Linked DNA regions of Homo sapiens: all the other regions are linked to region 1. The links are contacts of gene promoters, found by promoter capture Hi-C in blood cells and fetal thymus (Javierre and others, 2016). All regions are on one chromosome and are shown on one strand. Each heading gives the region's core, a stretch centred on a gene start or on the middle of the fragment in contact. The rest is flanking DNA. Distances are from core to core; before and after follow the strand shown. Region 1 holds the start of H1-5 (H1.5 linker histone, cluster member). Region 2 has its middle 4.7 kb from the start of TRIM38. Region 3 overlaps TRIM38 (tripartite motif containing 38). Region 4 overlaps LINC02980 (long intergenic non-protein coding RNA 2980). Region 5 overlaps H4C2 (H4 clustered histone 2). Region 6 holds the start of H2BC3 (H2B clustered histone 3). Region 7 has its middle 5.1 kb from the start of H1-2.

The links. The method cuts DNA at HindIII sites, captures the fragments that hold promoters and counts their contacts. A CHiCAGO score of 5 or more calls a contact.
Region 2: a contact is called between a fragment that was not itself captured here and the fragment with the promoter of H1-5 in region 1, in 1 of 17 cell types (non-activated CD4 T cells). The highest score is 6.7, in non-activated CD4 T cells.
Region 3: a fragment that was not itself captured here is called in contact with the fragment with the promoter of H1-5 in region 1 in 2 of 17 cell types (monocytes and M0 macrophages); the score reaches 6.4 in monocytes.
Region 4: a contact is called between a fragment that was not itself captured here and the fragment with the promoter of H1-5 in region 1, in 3 of 17 cell types (monocytes, non-activated CD4 T cells and M0 macrophages). The highest score is 6.5, in monocytes.
Region 5: a fragment that was not itself captured here is called in contact with the fragment with the promoter of H1-5 in region 1 in 17 of 17 cell types (erythroblasts, fetal thymus, non-activated CD4 T cells and 14 more); the score reaches 48.7 in erythroblasts.
Region 6: the fragment with the promoter of H2BC3 here is called in contact with the fragment with the promoter of H1-5 in region 1 in 17 of 17 cell types (non-activated CD4 T cells, erythroblasts, naive B cells and 14 more); the score reaches 73.1 in non-activated CD4 T cells.
Region 7: a fragment that was not itself captured here is called in contact with the fragment with the promoter of H1-5 in region 1 in 5 of 17 cell types (erythroblasts, fetal thymus, M0 macrophages and 2 more); the score reaches 9.7 in erythroblasts.

What each region holds. Positions count from the first base shown.
Region 1 is chr6:27,865,818-27,870,171 of GRCh38, forward strand. It overlaps H1-5 (H1.5 linker histone, cluster member), which reads right to left and starts at 1,771. Exons shown (of 1, transcript NM_005322.3): 1 at 975-1,771. The coding sequence starts at 1,712. The coding sequence ends at 1,032. RefSeq lists enhancers at 1-39, 1-20, 1,591-1,700, 1,961-2,030, 4,086-4,354. The HindIII fragment of the contact is 3,270 bases long and covers 756-4,025 here.
Region 2 is chr6:25,955,877-25,960,230 of GRCh38, forward strand. No RefSeq gene overlaps it. Among named protein-coding and RNA genes, the nearest start is that of TRIM38, 4.7 kb to the right of the region's middle. RefSeq lists a cis regulatory region at 2,794-3,098. The HindIII fragment of the contact is 2,095 bases long and covers 1,275-3,369 here.
Region 3 is chr6:25,972,557-25,976,910 of GRCh38, forward strand. It overlaps TRIM38 (tripartite motif containing 38), which reads left to right. Exons shown (of 8, transcript NM_006355.5): 6 at 498-520; 7 at 617-729. Among named protein-coding and RNA genes, the nearest start is that of TRIM38, 12 kb to the left of the region's middle. The HindIII fragment of the contact is 2,823 bases long and covers 688-3,510 here.
Region 4 is chr6:25,999,205-26,003,558 of GRCh38, forward strand. It overlaps LINC02980 (long intergenic non-protein coding RNA 2980), which reads left to right. Exons shown (of 3, transcript NR_186645.1): 3 at 2,046-2,571. Among named protein-coding and RNA genes, the nearest start is that of LINC02980, 8.7 kb to the left of the region's middle. RefSeq lists enhancers at 1-313, 314-949. The HindIII fragment of the contact is 819 bases long and covers 1,640-2,458 here.
Region 5 is chr6:26,022,795-26,027,148 of GRCh38, forward strand. H4C2 (H4 clustered histone 2) reads right to left here. Exons shown (of 1, transcript NM_003544.3): 1 at 4,102-4,354. The coding sequence ends at 4,147. Among named protein-coding and RNA genes, the nearest start is that of H4C2, 2.3 kb to the right of the region's middle. RefSeq lists enhancers at 2,867-3,161, 4,102-4,151, 4,182-4,241, 4,262-4,354. The HindIII fragment of the contact is 1,208 bases long and covers 1,375-2,582 here.
Region 6 is chr6:26,041,656-26,046,009 of GRCh38, forward strand. It overlaps H2BC3 (H2B clustered histone 3), which reads right to left and starts at 2,058. Exons shown (of 1, transcript NM_021062.3): 1 at 1,572-2,058. The coding sequence starts at 2,002. The coding sequence ends at 1,622. H3C3 (H3 clustered histone 3) reads left to right here and starts at 3,729. Exons shown (of 1, transcript NM_003531.3): 1 at 3,729-4,214. The coding sequence starts at 3,756. The coding sequence ends at 4,166. It also overlaps the pseudogene H2AC5P. RefSeq lists enhancers at 2,302-2,541, 3,772-4,091. The HindIII fragment of the contact is 16,277 bases long and covers 1-4,354 here.
Region 7 is chr6:26,059,362-26,063,715 of GRCh38, forward strand. No RefSeq gene overlaps it. Among named protein-coding and RNA genes, the nearest start is that of H1-2, 5.1 kb to the left of the region's middle. The HindIII fragment of the contact is 1,769 bases long and covers 836-2,604 here.

The sequences.
Region 1 (4,354 bases), core at 521-3,020:
GGGCCACTGGTTAAACATTTGGAACGTTTGTTATGAAAAGATAAAGCATTTTTCATCTAGAGCTTAGGAATGACTTTTAGGAAAAACCTTACAGGATTCAGGTGACATGTTTAAGTCAGAATGTGAACTAGTTATTTAATGTAGGGCTTACAAGAATGTTCGCTGTGTTTATTCATCTCGTGTTATATGAACTAGAACCAATAAAAAAAAATCCAGAGCCAGGCTCAGTGGCTCACGCCTGTAATCCCAGCACTTTTGGAAGCTGAGGCGGGAAGATCGCTGGAGCTCATGAATTCGAGATCTGCCTGGGCATCATAGCGGATACAAAAATTAGCCGACCGGGGTGGTGCACGCCTTTAGTCCTAGCACTTCACAGAGGCTGAAGTGGGACGATCCCTTGAGCCGGGGAGGCTGAGGCTGTAGTGAGCCGAGACCACGCCACTGCACGCCAGCCTGGGTGACAGCGAGAACCTGACTTGAGGAAAAAAAAATAATCCAGTACAGAATGACACGGTCATATCAAATTGGCATGTAATAGAGACCCCATCTTGAAACTTGCTACTATATTGTCTTGTGCGTTGATAGCATATTATATTAATGCCGAACACATTAGTGACGCCGAAGTAGCTGGTGCCTAAATGGCTTAAACGCGGAAAAACCACATACAGATGATGGAACAAAAACTGGCCAATCAGATTATAGAGCGGGCTTTTTAAAATATAAGAAGCTTCTTTGTAGCTAGGCGTCTGACAAAAAGCTTGACACCAACTTAACAAAAACCAACGGCTGGAATTCATACTCTAATAACAGACTGCATGGGTAAACTACGTGGGGAGTCCAACCAACACCCTGGACTCTTGCTTGCCTTGCGTTACTCGATTAGGGTTGAGGGAGAACTGCCCGAGATTTTTCGAATGCAAGGAATCTTGCTGCCTGATCTAACATGTTGTGCACAGCCATTTTTTAGAGGTCTCTGGGTGGCTCTGAAAAGAGCCTTTGGGGCTTTGTTGCGGTTTTCACACGCCAGCTTCCTACTTCTTTTTGGCAGCCGCCTTCTTGGCCTTTGCAGCTTTAGGTTTTGCTGCTTTGGGCTTAGCGGCTTTGGGCTTTGCCGCCTTCGGCTTAACTGCCTTGGGCTTGGCAGGACTCTTGGTTGCCTTTTTCGGTTTGGCAGCGGCCTTGGCCTTCTTAGGGCTCTTCGCCACCTTTTTGACGCCAGCCGCCGCGGGCTTCTTCGCCTTCTTCGGAGTCTTCTTCACTGCCTTTTTCGCCCCTGCAGCCTTCTTGGCCTTCTTAGGCGTGGCCCCCGCGGGCTTCTTAGCTTTAGCGGCGCCTGCCTTCTTGGCTTTGGGCTTGGCTTCCCCGGAGGCCGCCTTCTTGTTGAGTTTAAAGGAGCCAGAAGCACCAGTGCCCTTGGTCTGCACCAGGGTGCCCTTGCTCACCAAGCTCTTGAGGCCCAGCTTAATGCGGCTGTTATTCTTCTCCACGTCGTAGCCACCGGCCGCTAAGGCCTTCTTAAGGGCTGCCAAAGAAAGGCCATTGCGCTCCTTAGAAGCAGCCACAGCCTTGGTGATCAGCTCTGAGACTGGGGGCCCCGTCGCTTTGCGCTTAGCAGCGCCGGCGCCGGCAGCCTTCTTAGTTGCCTTCTTCTTAGCCGGGGATTTCTCCACCGGCGCTGGGGTGGCTGTCTCGGCAGGAGCGGTTTCCGACATGGTGGCAAGAAACTGCTAGAAGAGAATAAGCTCGAAATCTAAAGAGCAGGTTTTGCGTTGCTGCTATGCTCGGGCCCCGGGCTTATATAAGCCGGCGCTGCCCTGTGATTGGTGGAGCGTCCAATCCACCGCCCTCTGGCCGCCGCCGCTCGCGGTTGGACTCCCAAATTGTGTTTGTTAGTCCTCAAAATTTGATTAAATGCTTAAAACAATGGTACAGAATTTGGCACTTTGAAGCTCCAAAGGAGGAAAACAGCCTCCAGGTTCACATACTTGTTTGTGTTTTCAAGAATCTTGTGCAATTGATGAAAGATATTTTAAAAAATCCCTTCAGCTTTTCATAAGAATCCATTGGGCTGAGGGCATCATGTTAGTTAGTAGCGTGTCGCGATAAATTTCTACTAAGTATCCAGTGAAAGTTATTTTTAAAAATTTGCCCATGAGTTCATGCTTTGATTTTTGCAAGAGAAAAGACACTGGGTTCCTTGGTTTGGGCATGAAGTTTGTTTCTAACTGTAGCAAGTAACACAGGCACAGGACAGCTGGTTGCCTACAGCCCCAACTTAACCACATAGACTTGACTTTACAAACTGGTTCTGTGTCCTAGGAGTTTCCATGTGCTAATGTCTTTACAGAATGGGATTTTGCAGCTTGGAAGAGTTCCACAGTCAGAGTGACTTCTTCTGCATTGCAGCACCAGTAATACAAATCGCTTTGACTTAAGGATCTAACTACTCAGATTCACATTCAAACTTAAATGTGTTATGTTTTCTAATTAGAGTGTTTTCTCTTTTTAGTTCCTGGGCAAATCCATTAAAAAAGGGGAAGAAAAATAATATAGATAATTCAGTTTAGAGAAAACTCAAACTTGTGGAAAATTATTCAAGAGCTCCCAGTGATCCTCAAATGCACAAACTGTTTAGGTGGCCCAGGACACTGTCAGGTTTTCGAAATGTTCTCACTGCTCCCCCTGAATCTCCACCCACATTTAACAAGCTGCACCATCAGGAATACTCTCTTCTATGAGCAGCCAGGATACATCAATATGGGTATTTTTGTGTGTTTTAGCGCTAATATTTTAGAAGAATATCTGGCTATTGACTGTGAAAAGGTTGGATTGGATATTGAGCGACTTCACATTATAGAGGTTCAGAGGAACTCAGGAAAACATAGGCAAATACACTGAGGTTGAAATAAATGAAGTTTACAATTTATGGGAGGTGGAGGGGATTGGACAGGATGCCTGGATGATAAAAATGATCAAATGATGATTTGGATTCCTAATGAAATCAACAGTCACTTATTTCTCATTCTTGAAATGCTGTGCAAGAAAATTTAAAGTAGCCAATGCACTTCATCTTCTAAGAACTCCTGGAGAAGTTGGCAGACTATGGCCAAATCTGGACAATGGCTTTTTTCTGTATGGCCCTCAAGCTAAGAAGTGTCTTTATGTTTTAAAAGTATTGTTAAAAAAAAAAAAAACAAAAACAAAGGCTGGGCACGGTGGTTCATGTCTGTAATCTCAGCACTTGGGGACACTGGGATAGGTGGGTTGCTTGAGCTCAGGAGTTGGAGACCAGCTTGGGCAACTTGGTAAAACCCCATCTTTAATAAAAATACAAAACATTTTGCTGGATGTGGTGGCACATGCCTGTAGTCTCAGCTACTCGGGAGGCTGAGGTGGGAGGATCACTTGAATTCAGGGTGTCAAGGCTGCAGTGAGCAATGATAGCAGCACTGCACTCCAGCCAGGGCAATGGAGCAAGATCCTGTCTCGAAAAAGCAAACTAACTAAAAACTAAAGAGTGTGTGACAGAGACTATATATGGCCTTTAAACCCTAAGCTATTTATTACCTAGCCCTTTTGCTGTGTTATAAATTTCTCCACAGAGACACAGATATTGTATAGGCCTCTTACCGAACAATGCAAATTGAGAACTAAAGAAAAGGAGATCTTCATGAGCAAATGATCTAACCAAGCACTTTCCACTGTTCCAAACACAAAACTTAGAAGGTCCAGGAGAAAAAAACCCCAAAACTCCATGTGTAATGGAGCCAGGGTATAACAATAAGAGCTGACACTCATTCAGCATTTACTACCTGACAGGAAGTAATCTTAAATATGTTCTACAGGTTTCTATTAATTTGCTACATTTACAGCTATACAAGATGAGGCCCAGATAGAGAATTAATAACTTGTCAAAGGTTATACAGCTATGAAGTGGCAGCTCTAAATTTTAAACCTAGAAACATGGCCTCAGCTCTATTATGGAGGGAAAATCCTTGAAGAGGTGAGAAGAGAACTATCTTCAAAGCTTGGAAGAGGCAGTGTCAAGTTGTTCCTACACCTAGCAAACAGCCACTAAAAGAGCTCTAAGTTAATTGTGGGAAGAGGCTTCTGGCCCCATGGATCAAAAGTGTTTTTTTGTTGTTTGTTTTTCTGAATCAAATCTTAAGTTTCCAAAAACTTTATACCTGTATCCAACCCTTTGAATGTGAGGACTTTTTTGTTCATCTGTGATGGTGGATATCACAAAAATTATGCACAGACTTTTCTTTCTTTCCCTTCCTTCCTTTTTTTTTTTTTTTTTTTTTTTTGAGACAGAGTCTCACTCTGTCACCAGGACTGGAGTGCAGTAGCG
Region 2 (4,354 bases), core at 1,072-3,571, 1.9 Mb before region 1:
TAAAAAATGGAGGCATGAATTATCCACCCCTTGTTTAGCACATAATCAAGAAATAACCATAAAAATGAGCGACCAGCAGCCCTCAGAGCTGCTCTGCCTATGGAGTAGCCGTTCTTTTATTCCTCTACTTTCTTAATAAACTTGCTTTCACTTTACAGACTCGCCCGAATTCTTTCTTGTGTGAGATCCAAGAACCCTCTCTTGGGGTCTGGATCTGGACGGACCCCTTTCCGGTAACAGGATTACAGGTGTGAGTGAGCCACCATCCCCAGCCTTAGTAAATTTTTATTTCAGTTATTATATATTTTTATTTATTTTCTGTTTTTCAGTTATTATATTTGAAACTCCAGAATTTTTATTTAGAATGTATTAACAAATCAGGAGTACTGGCATAAGCCTGGCACAAAGCAAATGTTGACATAGGTCTGGCACAAAACAAGTGTTCAATGCATTTTAGCTACCTTTAAGTGTATTATTACTAGCTGCTTCTGGGGCTATCCGGGGAAAATTATCCTTGCAAAACCCCCACTCACTTCCAGAGCAGGCTTCAGTGAAGCAGTCATCTGTGTCATGACAAGAGCCAAACTCTGTAAAACATTTGAAGAGATTTATTCTGAGCCAAATTTGAGTGACCATGGCCCATGACACAGCCCTCAGGAGGTCCTGAGAACAAGCGCTCAAGGTGGTTGGGATGCACCTTGGCTTTATACATTTTAGGGAGGCATGGGACATCAATCAAATACGTTTAAGAAATGTACACTGGTTTGGTCCAGAGAGGCGGGACAACTGGAAGCAGCGGAGGAGTGGGGTGGAGGTGATGACAATTGGTTGAGTTTGTATAAAGATTTGGGATTAATAGAAAGGAGCACTAGGTTGTGATAACAGGTTGTGAAGACCAAAGTTGTACTATGGGATGAAGTTTTTAGCTAGCAGGCTTCAGAGAGAATAGGTTGTAAAATGTTTCTTATCAGACTTAAAAGCTGTGTTGATGTTAATGCCAGAGAGGAATAATGAGGCATGTTCAACCCCCACTTCCCTTAATGGCCTGAGCCAGTCTTTCAGGTTACATTTTAAGAAGCCTGACTGAAGAGAAAGTCTATTCAGATGGTTGGGGGGCTTTAGAATTTTATTTTTGTTTTATACCTTTGCCCTTGGAAGTTTTGCTGAAAAATGAACACAAAAAAAGGCAGATTCATAAGATAAAAGGCTTTACAATTTAATTACTCTGTGGTTCTCCTCATGCACATAGTACCAATATCCCAGTGGAATTTAGAAGCTTATATGCCACCTTGAAGTTGAAGAAATAACAGGGGCTTGATCCTTGCAAAATAGGTTATGGGAAACAGAAGAAGAGGAATTCTGTTGAGGGGCAATATGTAACTACCAGGAGAGACTAATTGGATCAAAGAACAGATAAATTTGTAAATAGTTCTCCTTGGAATTTAAATGATGCTTAGAGACTGATTATCTTATAAAAGGGTCTGTTCAGGTGTGGTTACATTCTTGGTCTTTCCTATAATGCACAATGAGATAACAGAGAGGGAGAAAAGAACAATTGTTCTCGCTGGTGGGGCCATCCTATTTTTATGTACCTAGGGAAAAGTCTCTTTAGTGTCTGTTGATCTCTAAGAGTTTTTCATTCAAAATACTCATTATATCAGGAAGCCACATTTTGGGGTGAAATTCACTACTCCCTTTTAGAGATACGGGTACAAACTGTTTGTAAAGAATGCTAAGACTTTGCCGGGTGCAGTGACTCACGCCTGTAATCCCAGCACTATGGAGGGGCCAAGGTGGGCAGATCACTTGAGGTCAGGAGTTCAAGACCTGCCTGGTTAACATGGCAAAACCCCATCTCTATTAAAAAAAACAAAAATTAGCCAGGCGTGGTGGTGGGCATCTGTAATCCCAGCTACTTGGGAGGCTGAAGGCAGGGAGAATTGCTTGAGCCTGGGAGGCAGCTGTTGCAGTGAGCCGAGATCACGCCACTGAACTTCAGCCTGGGCAACACAGCGAGACTGTCTCAAAAAAAAAAAAAAAATGCTAAGACTTACTTTGGGACATCCTTTGTCAGGGTCCATGATTCTGATTAGCTCAAGGCAGGTATTTTTTTTTTTTAATAGAGACAGCATCTTGCTATGTTGGCCAGGCTCGTCTCGAACTCCTGGCCTCCAGTGACTCCCCCCACCTCAGCCTCCCCAAGTGCTGTGATTACAGGTGTGAGCCACCACACCGGTCTGGTTTTTTTTGGTGGTTGTTGTTTTAATCCTATAATCCTGTGTCCTTTCTTCCTACCTCTGAGTAGTGCTTACTCTCTCCCCTTTAGTCATTTGAAAAGTTTATCAGAAAGTGGGTGCAGTTTCAGGCTGGGTACCGTGGCTCATGCCTGTAATCCCAACACTTTGAAATGCTTAGATGGGAGGATCATTTGAACCCAGTTCAAGATTACAGTGAGCTGTGATCGTACCATTGTACTTCAGCCAGGGTGACAGTGCAAGAGCCTGTCTCTAAAAACAAACAAAAAATTGCTTTCACACTGTGATGCTATCACATCTCTCCTAAGCTCTTGTTGGGGCTCAGAAATTGATACCCTAATATATGGCCCTTGGTCATATTGAACTGAAGAAGCCTCAAAGTCTCTCTGACATCCCTGCCACCAACTATCCCTACCAAAACACATCGTGGAATTAAAGTTTCTTTATCTACCTAAGATCCAGACCCACCAAAAAGAGCAATTATTTTTATTTACCCTTCCTGTAAGACCAAGAATGTAACCATGCCCGAACGGACTTTCACAAGATAATGTTCAAGTTAATCTCTGTTCCCTGATCTACTTACTCTCCCTAGTAATGAAAGGAGTTGGCCAGCTTGCTTTAGGCAGACAGTAAGGGAATGGTACCCAGAGAACCTCTGACCTGCCCCACAAGTGCTTACACCGGATGTTTTGTGCAGATAAGGGAACTTGCACAGGGGGCTTGCCTAAACATGCCTGCAGTGGATGATTCCTTTCCTTAACACATGCACAGTTCAGGAAATTAATCAATATGGAGTAGCTCAGTCTAAAGGCCTGCATGCACTGGTAGGACAGGGTGGAGTTGTCAGGAATTTGAGTCTTAAGCCCTAGTATTCAACTGTGAAGAGCAAACCAGAAATCTGCTTTCAGGACCCTTGTCTTTGCTGAGAGCTTTCCTTTCACTTAATAAATTCTACTCCACTCATTCTTTGATGGCTGCATGCCTAATTCTTCCTGGCTGTGAGACAAAAACCCGGACCTAGCTGAGCGAAGGAGCAAAAATCCGCAACAGTAATCCCATCAACAGAGTTTCTCTTCTTCCCCTCCCATAATCTGTTTTGCCAGGATAATATATAAGCTTTTAAGCCCTCTTGGGAAGTGGATAATCATTCTATGGTTCTCCCTGTGTACATGTTAATAAATTTGTGAGTTGATTTTTCAGCAAAGTTTCCCCAGAAGCCAAAGGGGAAATTTCCCTTGGCCCCTCCACTCTCTTTTCCCAGCTCTTCTTTTACTTTCGTTTTTATTTCCTCAGCCCAGTAGGTCACAGCCTTCTTTTTATTTCTTCTCTGTCCAAACCATCAGTATATCCTACAGGTGGGAGAGAAGCAGCTCTCTGGGAAACCAGTAAGCACCATGAGTTCTGATACTTTCTAGTACCATTTGACATATTAACATCCCCGCCACCCCTAATATGTATGGACACGCACACACATACCACATCACATGCATCACACTAACACAAACTATGTATCACATACCACACACAGCACACACAGTACCACATACCCCACACAACACCCACACCACACTACGTGCATCATGCACATATGTGCACACACCTCTTGTGATGTGTGTTTAGTGCAATTCAGAAAGTTACTCTTTGATTTAATGCACATCACTATGCTTAGAAATATTCTAGTTACTGGGATTCATCAGTGAACAATATTGAAAAAAATCCATCCCTTTGCATTCTCATGAGGGAAGCAAACACTAAACAAAATAAATTAGTAAAATATTCAGTGATAAGTGCCATGGGAACAAAATAGATTTGAAAATGTTTGGGAGGGAGAGAGGGGTACACTTGCTAACAAGTGGTCAGGATAGGGTTAGTTGAGAGGCAAAATCTGAAGGAGTTGAGGAAAGGCATTCTAGGAATAGCTGAGTGCTGACTCTTGCCCACAGTGGGAACACACAGTACAGAGCTTCTGAAGGAGACTCTAGTGACCTACTTCCCATTGTGAGTCTTTGGACTCCTATATCCCATAATCACAGGATCAAGCCTAACTTTACATATTAGAGATAATGCATTCCTCCTTGGGGATAGTTCAGGTTGATTTC
Region 3 (4,354 bases), core at 849-3,348, 1.9 Mb before region 1:
TGACTATACTGTAAGGCTGAGTGTATAGCATGATTGCTTTACCACTGTGTGATACCTGCTACCACCATCTTAGTGGCAGTGGCCCAGTCTCAGGGCTGTGCACAGATTCACCACTAAGGACCTTTATGATAAGTGTTCTCTAATCTGGGCTCACTGTGAAGGAAATCCGATCACCAAAAGCTAGTCCTTACAGAGGGAGCATGGACAAAGCTCCTGGCCCTCAGACTTCAGCAAGGATGAGAATAGATGCAAATGTTGATAAACATCCTGCCATGCTGAATCTCCCAGAAGCTGGTAGGAATTATTCCATCTGGGTATCCATCAATACCTAAGACTGGTGGGAATTACTTTGTTTGAGTATCCATCAATATCTAAGACTAAGACTAGGGTAACTCTCTTTACTTCTTCGGGTAAAGCAAAGAAGAATAGCCCTGCATGACAAGCCCCATGAAATACCGATGTTCCCATGCTCACCTTTTCTTTTTGTTTCTTTATAGAATGTGAATGACACTTTGAGCAGGTAAGTCCTGTTTGAATGCAGGAGGGGAGGGGTGTGCGTATATAGAAATGAATGGAATGCACCTCTGAAGAAATCTCTCGCCTCTGCTTATTCTAGGAGTTGGGCTGTGAAGCTGGAAACATCAGAGGCTGTCTCCTTGGAACTTCATACTATGTGCAATGTTTCCAAGCTTTACTTCGATGTGAAGAAAATGTTAAGGAGTCATCAAGGTATGTTCACTAAAGAATTCCTGAATACTGTGGATAGAAGGGGCCTTATGCAGTAACCAAGTTTACCACCTGTCCCTTGGCAGGCTCACAGCCAGAGAGGTTGTTTAGTTAATTTCAGTAGAGCTTTCATACTTTCTCTAGTTAGTATGATTCACTGCTCAGTGAATGTGATGAGCATTGCATTCTGGTTATCTGTGCAAACCTTTCAAATTCTTATTCTTTCACTTATTAGCCATGTTACTCCAAGTGACTTGGTTTCCCCCTCTGAAAAATGAAAATATTAACAGCTCCTACTTCATTGAGTTATCATCAAAATTAAATGCATCAACATGTACAAAGTGCTTAGCCCTGTGACTGACACATGATCATAATAGCACATCATGGTATTAGATCTGATCATAGTGTTTATTATCAATAGCTCAGCCAACTCTTAGAGCAATGCAAGAAAAGTAGGTGAGTATGATAACCTATCATTCACATATTTTAGGAACTTGACTTAGATAACACAGATGACAAATGTTACAACCAATTTACAGATTCCAAAATGTTAGAACCATTTACTGAGTTTCCTGCTCCCTTGATTTTTTAAATCAGTGCTGACTATACTTTCACAAATTTGTATCCGTAAGTACAAAATCAAAAAAACCCCTGAAAATGGAAAGTTTTATCATGATTCATTTGGCTACAAAAATCTGGCCTAACCTGAAATGATTTGGTGGTTATATTAGTTATCTATTAGTACAAACAAATTACCATAATTTAGAACCTTAATACAACACTGATATGTTATCTCAATTTTTGTGGTTCAGGAATCTGGGCACAGCTTAGTTGGGCCTGCTGCTTAGGGTCTGATAAGGCTGCAGTTAAGGTGTTGGTCAGGCTGTGTTCTTATCTGGAGGCTAGGCTAAGGAAGAATCCACTTCCAAGCTCACTGAGGTAGCAGGCAGAATTTCTTTCCTGATGGTTGCAGGACTTTGGCCCTGGTTATTTCTGGCTGTTGGCTGGAGGTTGCCCACAGCTTCTACAGGCCACCCCTCAGCTCTTTGCACATGGGCTTCTAACATGGCCAGTTATTTCTTCAGAGAGAGCTCAGGAGACAGACTCTTTAGAGAAAATCTGCCAGCAAGATGGAGTCTTACATAATGAAACGTAATCATAGAAATTATATCCCATCATCTTTGCCATATCCTATTGGTCAGAAGCAATTCATAAGCCCTGCTCACACTCAAAGACAAGGAATTTTACGAGGGTGTGAACACCAAGAGGCAGGAATCATAGAAGGCCACCCTTGAGTCTGTCTTCCACAGTGGCCAACCCTGAACGGCACTGAGATGAGACTATTTAAAAGTCTTTATTTATCCCACTTAATTTGAATAAATGTTTTGCTGCAGATATATTGATGAATTTGATTACAGGGCTCTGCCTTAGGCCATGATGGGGTTGAACTTTAGAGTATATGCATTTTTTTGCCTTTATAACTTCTAAACTAATTTGAATGGCAAAGCCCATTTTGTTCCAGGGATTTCAGAAAAGGAATTATAGACCTGTGTTCCCCTCAAATACACAACAACAAACAACAACAAAACCCAAAAGCACTCTGTATTTCATCCTATACAGATGACAGGAAGGAAGAACAAGACTTTGTGTAAGTTTTGCTGGGATTTCACTGAGTCAATTTGCCTACTCTCATCTTTTACAGAAGGAATCATAATATGGTTCAAGTGAAACTATTTCTTTCTTTCTTTCTTTCTTTTTTTTTTTTTTTGAGACAGAGTCTCGCTCTGTCGCCCAGGCTGGAGTGCAGTGGTGCGATCTCGGCTCACTGCAAGCTCCGCCTTCCGGGTCAAGTGAAACTATTTCTTAAATGGGCTTATCTTTTAACTAAATATTTCTCCCCTCTTAAACACTGTTTATTAAAATTTTTCTTTTTTCAAATTTTTTTTTGAGATGGAGTCTCGCTGTTACCCAGGCTGGCTTGCAGTGCCGCAATCTCAGCTCACTGCAGCCTCTGCCTCCTGGGTTCCAGCGCCTCAGCCTCCCGGGTAGCGTGGGATTACAGGTACGCACCACTATGCCTGGCTGATTTTTGTATTTTTAGTAGAGATGGGGTTTCACAATGTTGGCCAGGCTGGTCTCAAACCCCTGACCTCAGGTGATCTGCCTGTCTCTGCCTCCCAAAGTGCTAGGATTACAAGTGTTAGTCACTGTGCCCAGCTTTATTACAAAAGTGATAGGAATAAATTTTATTTTTATTTTTAAATGTATGTTTATTTTATTTTACATTGCCTTCAAGCAGATGCAACAAATACATTTTAATCAGTCAAACAATATAAAGGATATAAGGAGAAAGTTCAAGGTTTTTCCCACCCGTCTCCAATCTGACTTCTCTAGGTAGGGTGATCTATATCTTTCCCTAAGTTTGTACAAACGTAACATATATACACTGTCTCTTCTATGTTACTCGTTACTTTTTATGTCTAATATTCCATAAGAATATAATAAATATATGTAACCATATCCCTACTGATGGAGCTTCAGGCTGTTTTTAGAACTTAGTTATTACAATGTTGCTACAATAACTTTCTAGTCCATGCATCCTTATATCCTGGTGCTTTCATTTCTTTTGGGAACATACCCCAAACTGGGATTGCCGAGGTTGTTGTTAATCTTAATATATGGTACCATATTACTTGACTCAAAGTTGTAACATACACTCCTACCAGCACCAGGAATAATGACTCACATATACTGAGCACTCTTTAGTCTGTGACAGATTAGAAAAGCTTTACTTTTCTTGGTTCTTGTTTTATATCACAGTCCTCTCTATATGGGGCATTTTTGCTTTATAGAGGAGGAAATATGACACAGAGAGGTTAGGTGAGTGTTGTAGGATCTCATAACTAGAAGGTAGTCATAGAAAGAGTCTAGAGTCTAGAAACCACTCTCTCACCATTTTGCAATGTGGCAGAAAATGCAAAGTTGTTATTTACTTATCTCTTTTAGACAGGGTCTCACTCTGTCACCCAGGCTGGAGTGCAATGGCCCCATCATGGCTCCCTGCAGCCTTAAATTCCTGGGCTTAAGCAATCCTCCCACGTCAGCTTCCCCAGTAGCTGGGACCACAGGCAAGCACTGCCACGTCTGGCTAATTTTTTAAAAATTTTTTGTAGAAACACTATCTCTTTATTTTGTTCAGGCTGGTCTTGAACTCCTGGGCTCAAGCAGTCCTCTCGCCTCGGCCTTCTAAAGTGTTGGGATTACAGGCATGAACCACCATCTCCGGCCTGAAGTTTATTTAATCCATTGCCTTGTGGACTGGGCATTGAAGTTGTGTGTAGTTGGGTTTTTTTGTTGTTGTTGCTGTTGCAGACAATACTACTGTGAACATTCTTATCCATGCTTCCTTGTGTCCCGTAAATGTTCCCTCCAGGGAGATACCTTGGAGTGACATGCTGGTGTGAGGGATGCATATCATAATTTTACCAGATACTACAGATCTTGAAATTGTTCCAATTCTACCCCACAAGCAATATAAGAGCTCTCACTCCTCCAAAACTCCCTGAGTCTTTACTTATATAATTTATGATTTTGACAGTCTTACAGATTTAAAATGGTACCTAATTGT
Region 4 (4,354 bases), core at 799-3,298, 1.9 Mb before region 1:
GCCATGTTCTTCCGGCCATCACCTCCTGTGGGGAAAAGAGAGAGAGATCACATTGTTACTGTGTCTGTGTAGAAAGAAGTAGACATAGGAGACTCCATTTTGTTCTGTACTAAGAAAAATTCTTCTGCCTTGAGATGCTGTTAATCTAACCCTAGCCCCAACCCTGTGCTCCCTGAGACATATGCTGTGTCAACTCAGGGTTAAATGGATTAAGGGCTGTGCAAGATGTGCTTTGTTAAAGAAATGCTTGAAGGCAGCATGCTCGTTAAGAGTCATCTCCACTCCCTAATCTCAAGTACTCAGGGACACAAAACACTGAGGAAGGCCACAGGGACCTCTGCCTAGGAAAGCCAGGTATTGTCCAAGGTTTCTCCCCATGTGATAGTCTGAAATGTGGCCTCGTGGGAAGGGAAAGACCTGACCGTCCCCCAGCCCGACACCCGTAAAGGGTCTGTGCTGAGGAGGATTAGTAAAAGAGGAAGGAACGCCTCTTTGCAGTTGAGACAAGAGGAAGGCATCTGTCTCCTGCTCGTCCCTGGGCAATGGAATGTCTCAGTGTAAAACCCGATTGTATATTCCATCTACTGAGATAGGGGAAAACTGCCTTAGGGCTGGAGGTGGGACATGCTGGCAGCAATACTGCTCTTCAAGTCATTGAGATGTTTATGTGTATGCATATCTAAAGCACAGCACTTAATTCTTTACCTTGTTTATGATGCAGAGACCTTTGTTCACGTGTTTACCTGCTGACCTTCTCTCCACTATTATCCTTTGACCCTGCCACATCCCCCTCTCCGAGAAACACCCAATAATGATCAATAAATACTAAGGGAACTCAGAGGCCGGTGGGATCCTCCGTATGCTGAACACCGGTCCCCTGGACCCCTTTTTTTCTTTCTCTATACTTTGTCTCTGTGTCTCTTTCTTTTCCAAGTCTCTCATTCCACCTAACGAGAAACAACCACAGGTGTGGAGGGGCAGCCCAACCCTTCAACCTACCTATCTTATCTCTTCCATTATCTATCCACATATGTCCTCTGTATTTTTTTGAGTAACATTTATAAGCATAAGTCCTTAGGTAGCTATGCCACTTACATAATGAACTAGAAAAGGTAACCAAACAGAATAGGGTTGTACTCAGATATACCTTCTACAAGTTTGTGTTACACATATTTACACATATTTAAAAATATATACATATTATTATTGTGCTGTGTGGTTATTAGGCAAACTCAATAAGCAGTTCTTATAAAGTATACTCAATGTAACTTTTATAAACTTACCATATTTTATAGTTATTCTGTTTTTATTAGCTGCTATAAACTACCTGGGTGTCTTGCATGAGTCATTTTATTGTAATGTTTTTGTATCTGTTGAATGAGGAGTTAGAAGGCATCATCTTTAAGGAGCTTTACAGGTACATGTCCAGGGCTCAATAATTTTATTATTATTTCCTGGACAGATAAAACCTAAGCAGGTGAAGGGGAAAGAATAAAAGTGCAGGGTGGAAGTTGCTTGAATGCTAACTGGGTCAACGATCTCCCAGAAAACCCCTGTAAAAGAAACCTAAGAACCTACATCACCAGGAGACCATTGGGACCAGTTCCTCTGGAATCCCTGAGGCCAGATAATCAGCTGAAGCTTTACATTCTGTCCCTTTCTGGTCATGACTTTCTCCACAGTCTGCTTGGTGCCTCCTCCTCTGTGACTCTAAATTCTTAGGATCAACCCCTCTTGCATATGCACATCCGCAGTGCCTGTGGGATACGGTGTGGTGTGGGGAGGAAACTCTCTTCTGCCTTAATATTTTCCTGTGTGCCCCAGGCCTTGACGGAATCCTGTCTCTCCATAATGTTGCTTTTCGAGGAGACTGATTGATTGAGATGGCGTCTCACTTTGTCGCCCAGGCTGGAATGCAGTGGCGTGATCTCGGCTCACCAACCTCCACCTCCAAGGCTCGAGTGATTCTCCCACTTAAGTCTCTTGAGTAGCTGGGACTACAGGTGCATGCCACCACGCCTGACAAATTTTTTTATTTTTTGTAGAGATGAGGTTTCGCCATGTTGACCAGGCTGGTCTCAAACTCCTGGACTCAAGTGATCTGCCCACCTCGGCCTCCCAAAGTACTGGGATTACAGGCATGAGCCAATGTGCCCGTCCTGAGGAGTTTTCTTCTGGAATTCCTGCTGGGTTTTTGTAGTCAGTCCTCTCCCCATTTCCCACATTGGCTCTTGCAGACCTTCCTTTTCCCCATTTCTATTTGCTACCATGTCAGACATGACTTTTGCCATAGGATCTCTATTCTACTATAGAGGAAACCAAAGCCATCAGTAGAAATTTCACTAACATGGAATCAGATTTATAGAAGAAAGGGGGAGGAAAGTTTTGCCTTAACACCTGGAAGGGTTTCGTTTCTTTTAGTAGCTGGGAGACAGAAACATAAGAAAGTAGCTTAGTAAGCTTTCTGCTGTTCAACTGATGATGTGTGAGCTGTCAGTAGTTCAAACTAGTCATTATCTTTATGAATTAATTATGTAATAACTTAAACAATGTCATAAACCTTCAAATCAGTTTAAGTCTAAATGTGTCATATTTAATAACAAGAGCAAGAAACATACGTTATGATGAAGAGCTCTTATATTTTCTTTGGATAAAAGTCAGTAGGCGGGGCGCGGTGGCTCATGCCTGTGATCCTAGCACTTTGGGAGGCTGAGGTGGGCAGATCATGAGGTCAGGAGATCGAGACCATCCCGGCTAACACGGTGAAACCCTGTCTCTACTAAAAATACAAAAAATTAGCTGGGCGTGGTGGCGGGCGCCTGTGGTCCCAGCTACTCGGGAGGTTGAGGCAGGAGAATGGCGTGAATCCGGGAGGCGGAGGTTGCAGTGAGCCGAGATTGTGCCACTGCATTCCAGCCTGGGCGACAGAGCAAGACTCCGTCTCAGAAAAAGAAAAAAAAAAAAAGTCAGTAAAATTTAAGAGAAAAATGCATTTGCTTTGGGACTTTTAATATTTAGTCTACAAATCTAGCCACCATAGAAATCTGCTGATTAAATACGGGTTCTGTTAAAATGGAAACATGCATTTTGGGGGAAAAAAGAGGGAGTGTTTTAGTGATTTTGTTTTTTACACTTGTTTATAATAAAATTTTAAGCAATCTTGAGGGGAACATTTTATTTCTACTTGTAACTGCATAAAGTTATGAGATAAAGTTACAAGCTATATCACATACAGTTTGTAGCTTTATAAATTATGAAATTCTAACAGAATAAATATGCTAATATGATGAAAATGTCATAAATTACATTAGAATATATTTTAATAAACCAATTCAGAAGGAGCCAATACCCAATTTCAAAATCATATTAATTGTAAAATTAATTAGGGCAGCCAAAATATTCTGGAATTCTTTCTAATAAAACAAATGAGTGTAAATACAGTCGTACTGACAAATCTGAAGAATTATGCAGCATAAAAAGTGATTATCCCAGCACTTTGGGAGGCCAAGGTGGGCAGATCATGAGGTCAGGAGTTGGAGACCAGCCTGACCAACATGGTGAAACCCCGTCTTTACTAAAAATACAAAAATTAGCCGGGCTTGGTGGTGCACACCTGTAATCCCAGCTGCTCAGGAGGCTAAGGCAGGAGAACTGCTTGAATCCAGGAGGTGGAAGTTGCAGTAAGCCAAGATCACGCCACTGCACTCCAGCCTGGGCGACAGAGTGTGACTCTGACTCAAAAAAAAAATAAATAAATAAAAATAAAAGTTTTAAAAAAGTGATTATTATGAACACAGAGTAATCTAGTAAAAATGGTTAAGTGAAAACAGCAAAATACAAAATTGAATATGTACTATAACAATATATGCAAAATATACTCAGATTTATAAAAATTAGAATGTAGAAAAGTAAATATAGCTCTTCATAATTTTGTTCTGAAGTTTAAAAATATATATATTTTTGAATGGATAACTTTCTTTTTCTAAATGCTTACAGTAGAGCCCACGATGGTTGTTAAAAGCCCCCAGGTTCAGCCTTCTTTAATTGTGTGGTCAGCCTGCCATCAACCCGAGGCCTCCCTCTGCTGGGCAAATTTGGGAACACATTGAGAAATCCTTACACGTAATTCCTTCTCTTCATGTTCCTGGTGAGCATTTTTCCCATTGGGTTTCCATACTCTGCCCTCTTGAAGTCCTGCACCCTGACATTGCAGTGTCATTCCTCTTCTACTGAAGTCTACAACTATTAGCTTATTGTCTCTAGCAAGTCTCCCTTTAGCTACAAATATCATTCAGAGTTTTACCTTTCAGAAACTTTCTCCATGAGCATTCTGGAGTAGACTCTAGGTGCACTA
Region 5 (4,354 bases), core at 729-3,228, 1.8 Mb before region 1:
TTTGTGGTACATTAAATATCAATAAAGCTGATTATATACATACACATATATTTTTATATATGCAGAGAGAGAAATGATGCAAGCAGGGTGGTAGGACATGAGGTTGGTAGCATAGGCAATGTTGGTCTGTGAAGGGCCACCTGTGCTAAACCTGGAAGCCTGGGGTTTGTCCAGTCAAGCCATGGTAGCCATAGTTTTAAAGGATGTTCCTGATGCAGTTATGTGTTCCAGTTAAGTACATCTAGCTTCAGAACTCAGCTGGAAAAGGGATGTGAACTTCAGGTTAGCTGATAGGGAAATATCTTACTCTCATCTGAGTAAATATTCACAAATGCCTCTCATTGTGCTCTTTTTGGTACCATTGTTATAGGACTGATTTCAGCCTCACGATGTTAGCTTCAGTGATGGATGTCTCTTTATTTTGAGGTCCTGTTTTCCACCTGACAGTTTTCATCCAGGATTTCTTGAGGAATTACACAAGTACCCAGCTTGGCTTAATTTAAAACTGACAATGGAGAGAATTCATAGCTGCATTCTGGATAGTTTCAGGAATCAGAGGAGCAAAAATGAGCCTGGTATGGAGGGTGGGTCATTTTATGTCTTTCTTAGTTGGTATTTTAAAGATATTTATTGATCTCATATGCCAGATATTGTTGAAATCATTGGGGTACATAAGTTAGAAAATTTTAATTCCCTTTCCTGAATTCCAGAGTCAATGTAGAGGGGTGTGTGGATATCGATTACCCATATGGGAGGTATAGTCGTTGTAACAATAAGCCACGACTAGCTCCTGTTACGTTTTGCCTGGCCTTTCATAGCATTGCTATGTTCATAGCATTGCTGATATGTCATACTCATCTTAGGCATACCCACCACCACCTTGGGCCTTCTTCAGTCCTAACACTCATGCAGTCCTTGTTCAGAACAAAGATAATGTTGCTTAATTTGCAACCCCTAGACTATCCCCCAGATTTTCTAAAGAGAAACTGCACGCTGATTGCTTCAGGCAGTGGCAGGTCAAGGAATGAGATGGGGAATTGATTGTGTTAGCATTCTGGTGGGCTTAGTGGAGAGCCTGGAGACTTACATAGAAAATTCACACATCCTTTCATTCAACAAACCTCCATAAACTACCTGTTAAACGTCAGCCCTGTTCAAGGTGCTAGGGATACTTCTGGGACAAAACAAAGTCCCTACCTTCAAAAAATATATTCCAGTTGGGGGAGAGAGAACAAACACAAAATAAAATATATCTAGTTATATGTATTTTTTGTTAAATATATTATTACATATATAATTCTAGGTGGGGAAATGTTATATATATATGCTATTGAGGATAGTCAACTATATATATATATGCTAAATGAGCAGAAAAGCTTATTTTACAAGGGATGATTATGGGAGGTCTCTTTCGTAAGGTTGGTATTTGAGGAGAGGCTTGAATGAAATGAGATCTAGAGCCATTCAGATATCCAGGACAAGACCCTTCTAGGGAGAAAGAATAGATATAAAGGTGCTGATGCTGGAAATGCTTGGTCCATTCCAGAAACAGCAAGGTCAGTGAAGAGAAAGAACTGCGAAGAGAATGAGGTCAGAGGGTAGCCAGAGTACAGATCTAGTAGGTTGAGCAGCTCATCCTAGTTTGCTTGGAACTTTCTAAGTTTCAGCACTGTAAGTCTTACACCCTGAGAAACCCCTGAGAGTCAGGCAAACTGTAATGGTTGGTCATCTTACTTGTAGGCTATGATAAGGATGCTGGTTTTTATTATGAAGGTGATGGAAAGCCAGTGGAATCTTTTCAGCAGACAGTGGACATAATACCTTCAAAAAGGATCACTGTTGATGCTGGATAGAGAAAAAACTGTATGACAGGGGGATTAAAAGTGAAAACAAAGACCAGTTTGGGGTCACTGTGGTCATTCAGACAAACCGCCATGGCAGCTTGCTCCTAGAGAAGCAGCAAAGAAAACAATGAAAGGTATTCTGATTGATTTTCAACAGAGCTGACTGCATTGGGTGAAAGTTGTAAGAAGCTCAGGACAAACAATATTGCACAATTCCTGGCCCAAGCTGCTTGAAGAATGGAGTTCTATTGATTGACATGACAAATATCAGAGGAAGAACAGACTTGGTGTTTACGTATAAACATATTTTGGACAAGTTCGAGATGCCCATTATTCAATTAGATACATCAAATATGCAGTTGTATATGAGTCTAGAGATTTAAGGTCAGGGAGATGGTTTATAATTGCAAACACTTATTTAGAGACACAGTTTCACTCTTGTCTCCCAGGCCTAAGTGTAATAGCGCGATCTCAACTCACTGCAACTTCTGCCTCCCGAGTTCAAGCTATTCTCCTGTCTCACCCTCCCGAGTAGCTTGGATTACAGTCGCCCGCAACCATGCCCAGCTAATTTTTTTTTTTTTTTTAGTAGAGACGGGGTTTCACAATATTGGCCAGGCTGGTCTCGAACCCCTGACCCCAGGTGATCCACCAGGCTCAGCTTTCCAAAGTGCCGGGATTACAGGCGTGAGCCACCTTGCCGGGCCTATATTTCTTAAGCTCTATGTTTCGTTCTGAAGCTTGAAGTGGGTGGAAGCAAACTGATAGAATTTGGAGAGGTGGTTAGGCATCCCGGGAATGAGAAACAGCCCGAAGCTGCCACTATCACAGGCTTTGGCATTGCTAGAAGTTAACGTGGCACTTACAGCTAGGCCGTGGTGTTCTGTTGAACAAACTATTTGACAGAGCACAGAGCATGTAAGTGGTGAGGCCAGTTGAGTTAGCCAAGAAAAGAGGAGTCCAAGAACTGAGCCAGAGTACACCAGAGTATGTAGTGGAGTACAGCTTTCTCATTCTTTAGTAGGGCTGTGTAGAGAAATACTCTATTTTATGGATGTATAGATCACTCTAGTCCTTTCTGATGAAAACTTTACAGTTGCCACTCATTTACTATTACAAACAATGCTGCACTACATTATGTTTCAGTTTTTAGCCATCTCATCTGGTCTCAGCATTTATTTATCTGCTGATGACTCACACATTTTTATCTCCAGCTCAGACCTCTCACCCGAACTCACTTATTCAACTGCCTATTCACTATATCCTCCTGTCAGGAGAAGCTTGTTAGCAAAGTAACCAGAAAACAAAGTTGATTTTTTTTGCTGAAGTAGCCATCAATATATTTGTTACTAAATCAAAGATGCTGAATATTTGGCTGACTTCTAAAAATCTGGTCACCTAACTTTGACACTTCCTAGGTCGTACAGTTTGAAACTTTCACAATTAAATCAGTTTTGGAATTTACAATTTAAGGCAGGAATAGAAGACTATTGGGTTGACAGGTACAGTGAAGATGCAAGTCATCTGAGAATCTTACATCAGAGGGGGCTTCCATCTTATAGCTGCTGCCACGGACCTCGGAGTCAGAAGAAATTTGAGTCCTTATTTATAAAACAGACTCCCTTAGTCTACTAAGTGGGAATTTACGAACTGCGTAGGCAGCCTGCTTAGGGGAGCCTCCAGCCTGAGGACTGAAAATAGCAAAGCAGCTTTAACCGCCAGTCCTACTCCAGAGAAGGGGGAGGTGACGTCACTCAGCAGGACGCCAAGCTCAACTAGAAATGGAAGTAAAGGCTTCTGGCGCTACCGGCAGGGGGCGGTTAAGGACGGCAGGTGTTACCAGGGAAGCTAAAAGTACAGCTTTTGCTGACGTTAAGTCAGATACGCCTGGGAAAACAGACCTGACACCCATTTTAATCCACCTACTCAGTTCCAGGCAGCTAGCATCTTAGGCTCTCGTACAAATAACGCACAACTCGTTTTTAAAACTAAAAAGCTGAGCTACTCATTTATCGGACTCGCGCTGCACGTTAAGTTGCTTGACATGTCAAAACTATAGCATTGAAGTTTATAGCTCACTTATCTCGGAGACCTCGTTTACTTAGCTGATTTCTGCTTTAGCAGCCACTCAGACCAAACAACCTGGTCTCTCCCAACTGGTTTATAATAGTTCTACATACTAGGCAGAATAGCCGAGTAAAGCCATTGAGATGTTACCATCCGAAAGAATACAATCACAGCTCTTTCTGAGAGGGAGTGGGCGGCCCTGAAAAGGGCCATTGGAAGAAAACTGACGAAAAGATTAACCGCCGAAGCCGTACAGAGTGCGTCCTTGACGCTTGAGCGCGTAAACCACATCCATGGCAGTGACAGTCTTGCGCTTGGCGTGCTCCGTGTAGGTCACGGCGTCCCGGATCACGTTCTCCAGAAACACCTTGAGAACGCCACGAGTCTCCTCATAAATCAAACCGGAAATTCGCTTAACCCCACCACGCCTAGCAAGGCGCCGA
Region 6 (4,354 bases), core at 808-3,307, 1.8 Mb before region 1:
GCCTGGGTGACAGAGCAAGGCTCAGTCTCAAAAAACAAAAAAAAAGATTAGCAAGAGAAAAGCATACAAATGTATTTAATATAAGTTTTATATTACATGGGACCCTTCGGAAATGAAAACTCGAGGGAAGCGGGAAACCTGTGAATTTTTATGGCAAGTTTTGTGAAATGCATAGTTGTGGATTAATATGATTGACAGTAGGCATATGATCTAATGGTAATAAACTGAGGGGGACATAGCAAGGCTTGTTTGTTAATTACCTATTAACGATCAGCCGAGTATCAGCAGAGACAGCAAAACATCCTAGTTTTGAGTTAGAAGACCTAGGTTTTTGTTTTGGCTTATCAATTATGGGTATTGTTTTAGATGAAACATCAAGTATTCTTGATTTCTTATTTCAAAAATAAAAAATAAAAAATAAAGGAAGGAAAAAAGAAGAAAAAAAGAGAAGAAAAGTGTCAGAGTTACTTGAACCAGAGTAACTCCATTTTGAGTGAGGGCTAGGAAAATGAGGCTGAGACTTTCTGGGCTGCATTCCCAGAAAGTCAGTCATTCCTAGCTTCTAGATGTTTACGGTTAAGGGAACAAATAAATAATGTTTACTAAACAGACTCAGACTTAGGAGTGTCCAGATATCCCTATATCTGGAGAACAAAGGCATTCTTAATTTTGTTTAAAGATAATAATGTTGATTCTTGCAAAATATAGTAACTAAGAAAATTAATCCTTTATCACAAACTTGTAGCAGAGCACATCTCCCCATATATACAAGTATTGTACCTAGGGTGGATGCCTTCCTCCTCTTACTTTCGGGAATGTCCTGCTCCGTCTATGGAGTAGTTGTCGTTTCACCACTTTACTTTCTTAGTAAACTTGCATTTACTTTGCACTGCGGACTCACCCTGAACTCTTTCTTGCGCGGGATCCAAGAACCCTCTCTTGGGGTCTGGATGGGGACCTCTTTCCTGTAACATATTTCTGGCCACCACAGAAGGGACTATAGTACAGAAACCCTGACCCAACAGCTACCTTTGGGTAAGTGTTGGAGTTCTGTAACAAAGGAAGAAGGCAGGCAGGCAAAAAATTTATGAAAGAACATACGACAAAATAATTTCTGCTTCAAAACTTCATATTTTTTTAATTTTTTTTTTTTTTTTTTTTTGAGACGGAGTCTCGCTCTGTCACCCAGGCTGGAGTGCCATGGCGCGATCTCGGCTCACTGCAAGCTCCGCCTCCCGCGTTCACGCCATTCTCCTGCCTCAGCCTCCCGAGTAGCTGGGACTACAGGCGCCCACCATCACGCCCAGCTAATTATTTTGTATTTTTAGTAGAGACGGGGTTTCATCGTGTTAAGCAGGATGGTCTCCATCTCCTGACCTCGTGATCCGCCCGCCTCGGCCTCCCAAATTGCCGGGATTAAAGGCAAGAGGCACCGCGCACGGCCCCGTCCAAGTTAACCTTGGCTCTAAAACTTGTCTTCGCTAACATTCCAGTTGATCCTCTAGAACTGAAACAGAATAGCAGCAGCACCACCTTAAGAAATTGTGGTTATAGCTCTCCTTGTGACAAAGTAGGTGGCTCTGAAAAGAGCCTTTGGGTTTGGAAGTGCTTACATAAGCACTTATTTAGAGCTAGTGTACTTGGTAACTGCCTTAGTGCCCTCGGACACAGCATGCTTAGCCAGCTCCCCAGGCAGCAGCAGGCGCACAGCCGTCTGAATCTCCCTGGAGGTGATGGTCGAGCGCTTATTGTAGTGAGCCAGGCGAGAAGCCTCGCCCGCGATGCGCTCGAAGATGTCGTTGACGAAGGAATTCATGATCCCCATGGCCTTGGATGAGATGCCGGTGTCGGGGTGGACCTGCTTCAGAACCTTGTACACATAGATAGAATAGCTCTCCTTGCGGCTGCGCTTACGCTTCTTACCATCCTTCTTCTGCGCCTTAGTGATAGCCTTCTTAGAACCCTTTTTAGGGGCTGGAGCAGACTTAGAGGGTTCAGGCATTGCTATTCCTAAACAGAATAGAAAAGCTACTAACACTCTCCACTACAGAGTAGTACAGAGAACAGTTCAGAGCCCATGTATTTATAGTCCTGAGATTCAAATGACGGTTTAAGATTCCTCACTTCTGATTGGACAAAAGAAACACGGTTTCACTGAGGGGTGGGGTTTATGCAAATATGGAATTTATGTTATCTTTTTCTATTGGATAAAGCACCAAACATAATTGACCAATAGGATAGCTTCCTATTGCAGCCTTGCAGTTTGTATAAAAGGATTTGTTCAGGCGCCATTCCAGCTTGCTTGTCTTTCACAGTTTTCCGCTGCTTTCATAGGTCGCTATTTGCGGACGTGGAAAATGGAGCTAAAGCAAAAACTTGTTCGTCGCTACCGGGCTTGCAGTTCCCAATAGGGCAGAGTCCGTCATCTTTTTCGAAAGGGCAATTATTTTGAGCCGGTCGGAGCCGGTGCGCCAGTGTACTTACAATACCTGGCCGCCGAGATCTTAGAACTGGTGGGCAGCGCCATACGTGACAAGACCCGCAGCATCATCCCCCGCCACCTGCAGCTGGCCATCCGAAACGACGAGGAGGTCAACAAGCAGCTGGGCAACGTCACTATTGCTCAGGGAGGCGTCCTGTCCAATATTCAGGCCGTCCTGTTGCCAAAATAACAGAGCCACGATAAGGCCAAGGTCAAGTAAACACTCAAATCAGAAAACGTAGCTTACACTTGAAACGGCATTTTTCAGAGCCGTCCATAGTTACACAAGAAAGGATGATAACTTGCTTCTGTTAGGGTATTTTTTGCTTTTCGTTTGGATTGGTTTGTTTTGAGACAGTCTAGTTCTGTCACCCAGGCTGGAGTGCAGCGGCGCGATATCGGCTTACTGCAACCTCCACCCCGCCGCTTCACGCGGTTCTCATGCCTCAGCCTCCTGTGTACTTGGGATTACAGGCGTCTGCTACCGCGCCCAGCTAGTTTTTGTATTTTTATGCGAGACGGGGTTTCACCATTTTAGCCAGGGTTGTCTTGAACTCCTGGCCTCTAGTGATCGTCCCATCTCGCCCTCCCAAAATGCTGGGATTACAGGCGTGAGCCACCGCCCCCCTAGCCTAATGGTGTTAAAAAGTTAAGTTTCGAGAAAATAACACCTTCCTTTAGAAAGTACATTTTAGAGTATACAAAGTGAAACTTAAGGCCAACCAAAATAAGACATTTTGAGAACAGGCAGGGTGGGAATGTGACTTGGACTTAGAAAACAAAGGGCAAGGAAACTTGCTGTTCGCCAGTAACAAAATAGCATGGAATCTCATTCTCTGAATATAAGCGTTATTTCCCGACATGAGTCTGAACGTTTCTGGTGGTTTAGTGAGTGTTCACCAGCATTGATAACTTGCGAGACTGTCAGGAATGCAGAATTTCAAGTCCCACTCAAACTTACTGAATCGGAATTTACATTTTAAAAATCCTTAGATACCTTGTTATACACTCTGTTCTTTGGGACTGGATGAACTAGAATTTTAGACAATTTGTCGCTGCAGATAACTGAAACGAAAAGGACAGGATGGGCGGTGGGGCAACTCATCCAATAAGATTGTCTAGTAATGAACCAATCAGTCTGGTCACTCTTCAGCCAATGATTTTATCGCGCGGGACTTTTGAAATATTACAGGACCAATCAGAATGTTTCTCACTATATTTAAAGGCCACTTGCTCTCAGTTCACTACACTTTTGTGTGTGCTCTCATTGCAAATGGCTCGTACGAAGCAAACAGCTCGCAAGTCTACCGGCGGCAAAGCTCCGCGCAAGCAGCTTGCTACTAAAGCAGCCCGTAAGAGCGCTCCGGCCACCGGTGGCGTGAAGAAACCTCATCGCTACCGCCCGGGCACCGTGGCCTTGCGCGAAATCCGTCGCTACCAGAAGTCCACCGAGCTGCTGATCCGGAAGCTGCCGTTCCAGCGCCTGGTGCGAGAAATCGCCCAGGACTTCAAAACCGACCTGCGTTTCCAGAGCTCTGCGGTGATGGCGCTGCAGGAGGCTTGTGAGGCCTACCTGGTGGGACTCTTCGAAGACACCAATCTGTGCGCTATTCACGCTAAACGCGTCACCATCATGCCCAAAGATATCCAGCTGGCACGTCGCATCCGTGGGGAAAGGGCATAAGTCTGCCCGTTTCTTCCTCATTGAAAAGGCTCTTTTCAGAGCCACTCACAATTTCACTTAAAAACAGTTGTAACCCATTCGGTTGTCTATGTTAGTTTCCAGGAGATATAAAGGTGATAACTACACACAAGTTTTGTAACTGCAGACAAGTCTATCAGGCCTTTTCAACCGGTTTTACTGCGAGAAAA
Region 7 (4,354 bases), core at 470-2,969, 1.8 Mb before region 1:
TTATCTAAAAAGCCTACTTATGGGGTACCTGATGATGTAAGGCAATACTAGACAGTAAAATAGAATGTGAATCACATAAATACTTTCCAGATTTCTAGTGGTCACATTGAAAGAATGAAAAGAAACAAGTAAAATTAATTTTAAGATATTTTATTTAACTTAATATATCTAAACTATTATCACTTCAACATATAATAAATAAGCTAAAAAAAAAGACAGTTGACATTCTTTTTTAAATGATAAATCTTCAGAACCTGGTGTGTATTTTACACTTTTAGAACATTTTAAATCAGTCTAGCTATAGTCCAAATGGTCAATGATCACGTGTAGCTAGTGGTACCTTATTGGACAACACTGTCCTACGTGAAAGTAACTCTGACTTAATGTTTACATTTTATTGGGTCCAGACTATCTAAAAGTAAACATTCACTTGTAGAAGTTTAATAAATTAATAAGGATTTTGTCATAGAGATGGAAATGAATTCTTAATATAGAAAAAATGACCCTAAAAGTTATTATTGTATTGCCTAATAAGTCATTAAACAACTTTATATCTGATTTTCCCTTCCTCTTCCAGTATACATCCTTTCCCTGACCAAATACATATTTTATTCTCCCGTATCTTCCTTTGACCTAATTGTGATTCTGCTTCCTCCTTCATTAATGAATTAAATCATTCATTGACACATACACAAGCTCACTATATATAGTACATATATGTCAGTCATGTTTTTAACTTCCTGAATGTTGTACTTTGACACTTGGTTGTTCAATTTCGCCTAAGAGCTCTGAATCAGAACCTTTAGAAGCCATTCTGAAAAACTGGAAGATACAAAGCTTTTGACTATCAACTCCATAGCAACCTGATATCTGGTTGGTGTTCCATGGAAACTGTATTTCTCAAATTTTGAAATAAGATTGAACAAGCCTGTGAGCAACAACAAAAAAAAAGTCTATTAGAATGACCTCTGGCCGGGCGGGGTGGCTCACGCCTGTAATCCCAGCACTTTAGGAGGCTGAGGTGGGCAGATCATGAGGTCAGGAGTTTAAGACCAGCCTGACCAACATGGTGAAATTCCGTCTCTTCTAAAAATACAAAAATTAGCTCGGCATGGTGGCGTGCATCTGTAATCCCAGCTACTTGGAAGGCTGAGGCAGGAGAATCACTTGAACCCAGGAGGCGGACGTTGCAGTGAGCTGAGATTGCGCCACTGCACTCCAGCCTGGGTGACAGAGCGAGACTCTATTTCAAAAAAAAAAGAATGACCTCCAAGGGAAAGTTCAGATTAAGGATGTGGTCGTCCCACCCAAAACTGATGTCCTCAAGAAAGCCACAAACAAATTGAGGACACAGTTAAAATATTGTAATGCAATATATTGTGTATTCTTTTATTTACACACACATCATAAATATTATAGGTTGACTAGTTTTGTTTCATGCCACACTCTTCAGGGTCTGGAAACCCTGGTAGAAAAGTTAAAAATGCAGAGCAAAATGTCAAGTCCAAACAGCAGTAATGGGGCTAGAGAGAGACTCAAACAGCCAAGATATATTCAAAGGATAGTGAGAGGAGTTGTTAGGACAGGTGTAAGGAATGAGGGTGACAGCTGGTTTTTCTTTCACTTTTTCCTTCTACTATGCCAATTAGAGTTCTTTGTTTTTGATAGAGACAGGGGTCTCACTATGTTGCTCAGGCTGGTCTCAAACTCTTGGCACCAAGTGATCCTCCTGCCTCAGCCTCCCAAAGTTTTGAGATTATAGGTGTGAACCACCAAGCCCAGCCTTAGAGTAGGGTTCTGTCATCTTTTGGATGTAGCTAACCTAATATTACTAAATCCTGTATAGGCCAGAACTTTGAATGATTTAAAGCTGTTTTTTCCTGACTCACCAATTAATGAAGCTAATAATAACAGCCACCCCACTGGCAGTGCCTGCCTCAAAGAGTAAGTGTTAGTGTTGCTATCTGCTTGAGACCAACAATACAGGGACTCCAGGATATTTTCAGCCTAAATAAGATTGTAGGGGCTCTTGTCTGTTGCCTGGCTTCAGCCCCATAAACTTTTTTTTAACATATAACCCAGAGCCACAGTTTTGCTCATATTTCAATCTTTGAAGGCAAATGGCCAACAATTAGATTAAACCTGAGGCTAAATATTTCCTCACCTCAAGGGCTGAGACGAAAGTTACTGCATCTGTATTCCCTAACACGCCCTCAAAATGGGTTGCAGAAAACAACAGAAAATATACTAAAGCACACAGTAGGAGCATAATAAATAGTGATTAGCTGGGTGCAGTGGCATGCGCCTGTAGTTCCCGCTACTCTACTCATGAGGCTGAGGCAGGAGGATCACTTTTGCCAAGCAGTTTGAAGTTGCAGAGAGCTATGATCACAACACTTCACTCTAACCTGGGCAACAGAGCAAGACTCTGTCCAGAAAAATAAATACATAAATATAAAATTTAAAAATATAAATAAATACATAGAGAGTATTACAAAAGGAACAATATATTGCAAAATATATTTACCTAACATTTTGAAATTGCCATTATAATTGTATAAGTGACATAGGAAACTGGGTCATTAACAGCTATCTTATTCTTCAAGCTTCTTTCAAATGATGTCAAAGCATTTCAGAAAGTCAAACCTACCCTCAAAGGATAAGAATTTGTCAATTGTGAGGATATGCACATTTTTACACCTTCTCAATCTGTGTCTATATGAAGGCAGTTATAAAGCACAAGATGCAAACGTATATTAGGCAATAGTCTTCATCAGAATAAGTACATAACCTGACACAATGACTATATTGGAAGAAACATGGAAATGCAAATTTCAATAGATTGGTTGACATTATTTTTTAATGTCTAGTTTTTTACTGTGCTGTGTTTTTACACACTTAATGAGCACTTGTTAAGCACAGGACACCAGGAGAAATAATAAAAACTAAGATCAGCCTAGCAGTGTGTCCTCTCAAGAACTTATACCTGGTGGGACAGATACAGACAAATATAACCATCATACAGTGTGAGAAATCGATAGAAAAGACACAGCCACTGAGAGCACAAAAGAATAAAAACATAAAATGTTAATGTGCTGGCTAAACGTTTGCCTTCAAGTATTTACCAGTCTAGCTGGGAAAATAAGACAGAAGACAACAGCCTAAAATAGTGGTTCTTAAACATTTAGATATCAGGACTTCTTTACACTCCTAAAAACTATCAGGCCTCCAAAAAATATTTTGCTAAATATAGGCATTTATCACTTTGGAAAACAAAGCTGAGTATTAATTATTTAATTATTTATATTAATATTTATTTGATAACCTTTAAAATATTATAAAATTAATATTTATTTATAATGCATATATGTGATTATATAGTTCATATGTAGCCATATATTTATCATATATACCATAGATTTATGTTATATATTACATATGTATGAAGAAAAAATGGAAAGTAAACCCAAAAGTTCCCCATTCCCTAACCCATTCAAAACCCTGGAAGTCCCAGGCTAATCTGAAACTTGTAAAACTGCCTGCATGTAGAGAGCACAGCTGAGCTGGTAGTGTGGAAGAGCAGAAAGACAGCAGTTCTGGAGCAAGGAAGCTTTATATTTAATCCCAGTTTCTCCATTCATGAGCTTGGTTACCCTGCCAAGTTCCTTCTCTGTAAAATGGGAATAATACTCCCAGAAATACAGTGAGGATTAAATTAGATAATGTGCATACAGTTCCTGGGATTGGGATCAGCACACAGTAGCCTCTCATTTGAGGCATATTTGCATTAGATCCTTGCTGTATGATATCCTTCTGTTTCTTTCTTTTTTTTTTTTTTCCTTTGGTGACCCTAAGAAAGATGGTACTCTCCTTAACTTGGAGGGCTGGATGCGAAGAGACCAAATCCAACAAGCTGGTTCATTCTTTCTAATTATGTGTGCTTCCCTTAGCTGCCTCTGAAAGGATACAGGCCCTAGGTACTAGCCCCAAGAAGCCTAATGATAAGAGATAGAGCTGGACCACCAGAGAAGAGATGAGTGTGTATGTGTGTGTGTGCAAGCAATTATATGTGTGCATTTAGGAGTGGTAGGTGTGTAAACAGTCTAGAACACTCATTCTCACTGTGATGTGAGGATGTATCCCCACATCACTGTTCTGGGAGCTCACTCCTTGTCCATCATCCAAGCTTATGATGGACAATTCTTTCCCAAGTGGGAAAGAATTCTGATGACACTCACATAACTACCCAGTCCCAACTTTCTGTATCCAAGGTGTGTGCATACCTTTGATAGCAGGCAGGTGTGCCTAGCCAATATATTAGGAGCATGGTATTCCAGCACTCTGCACTTTTTTA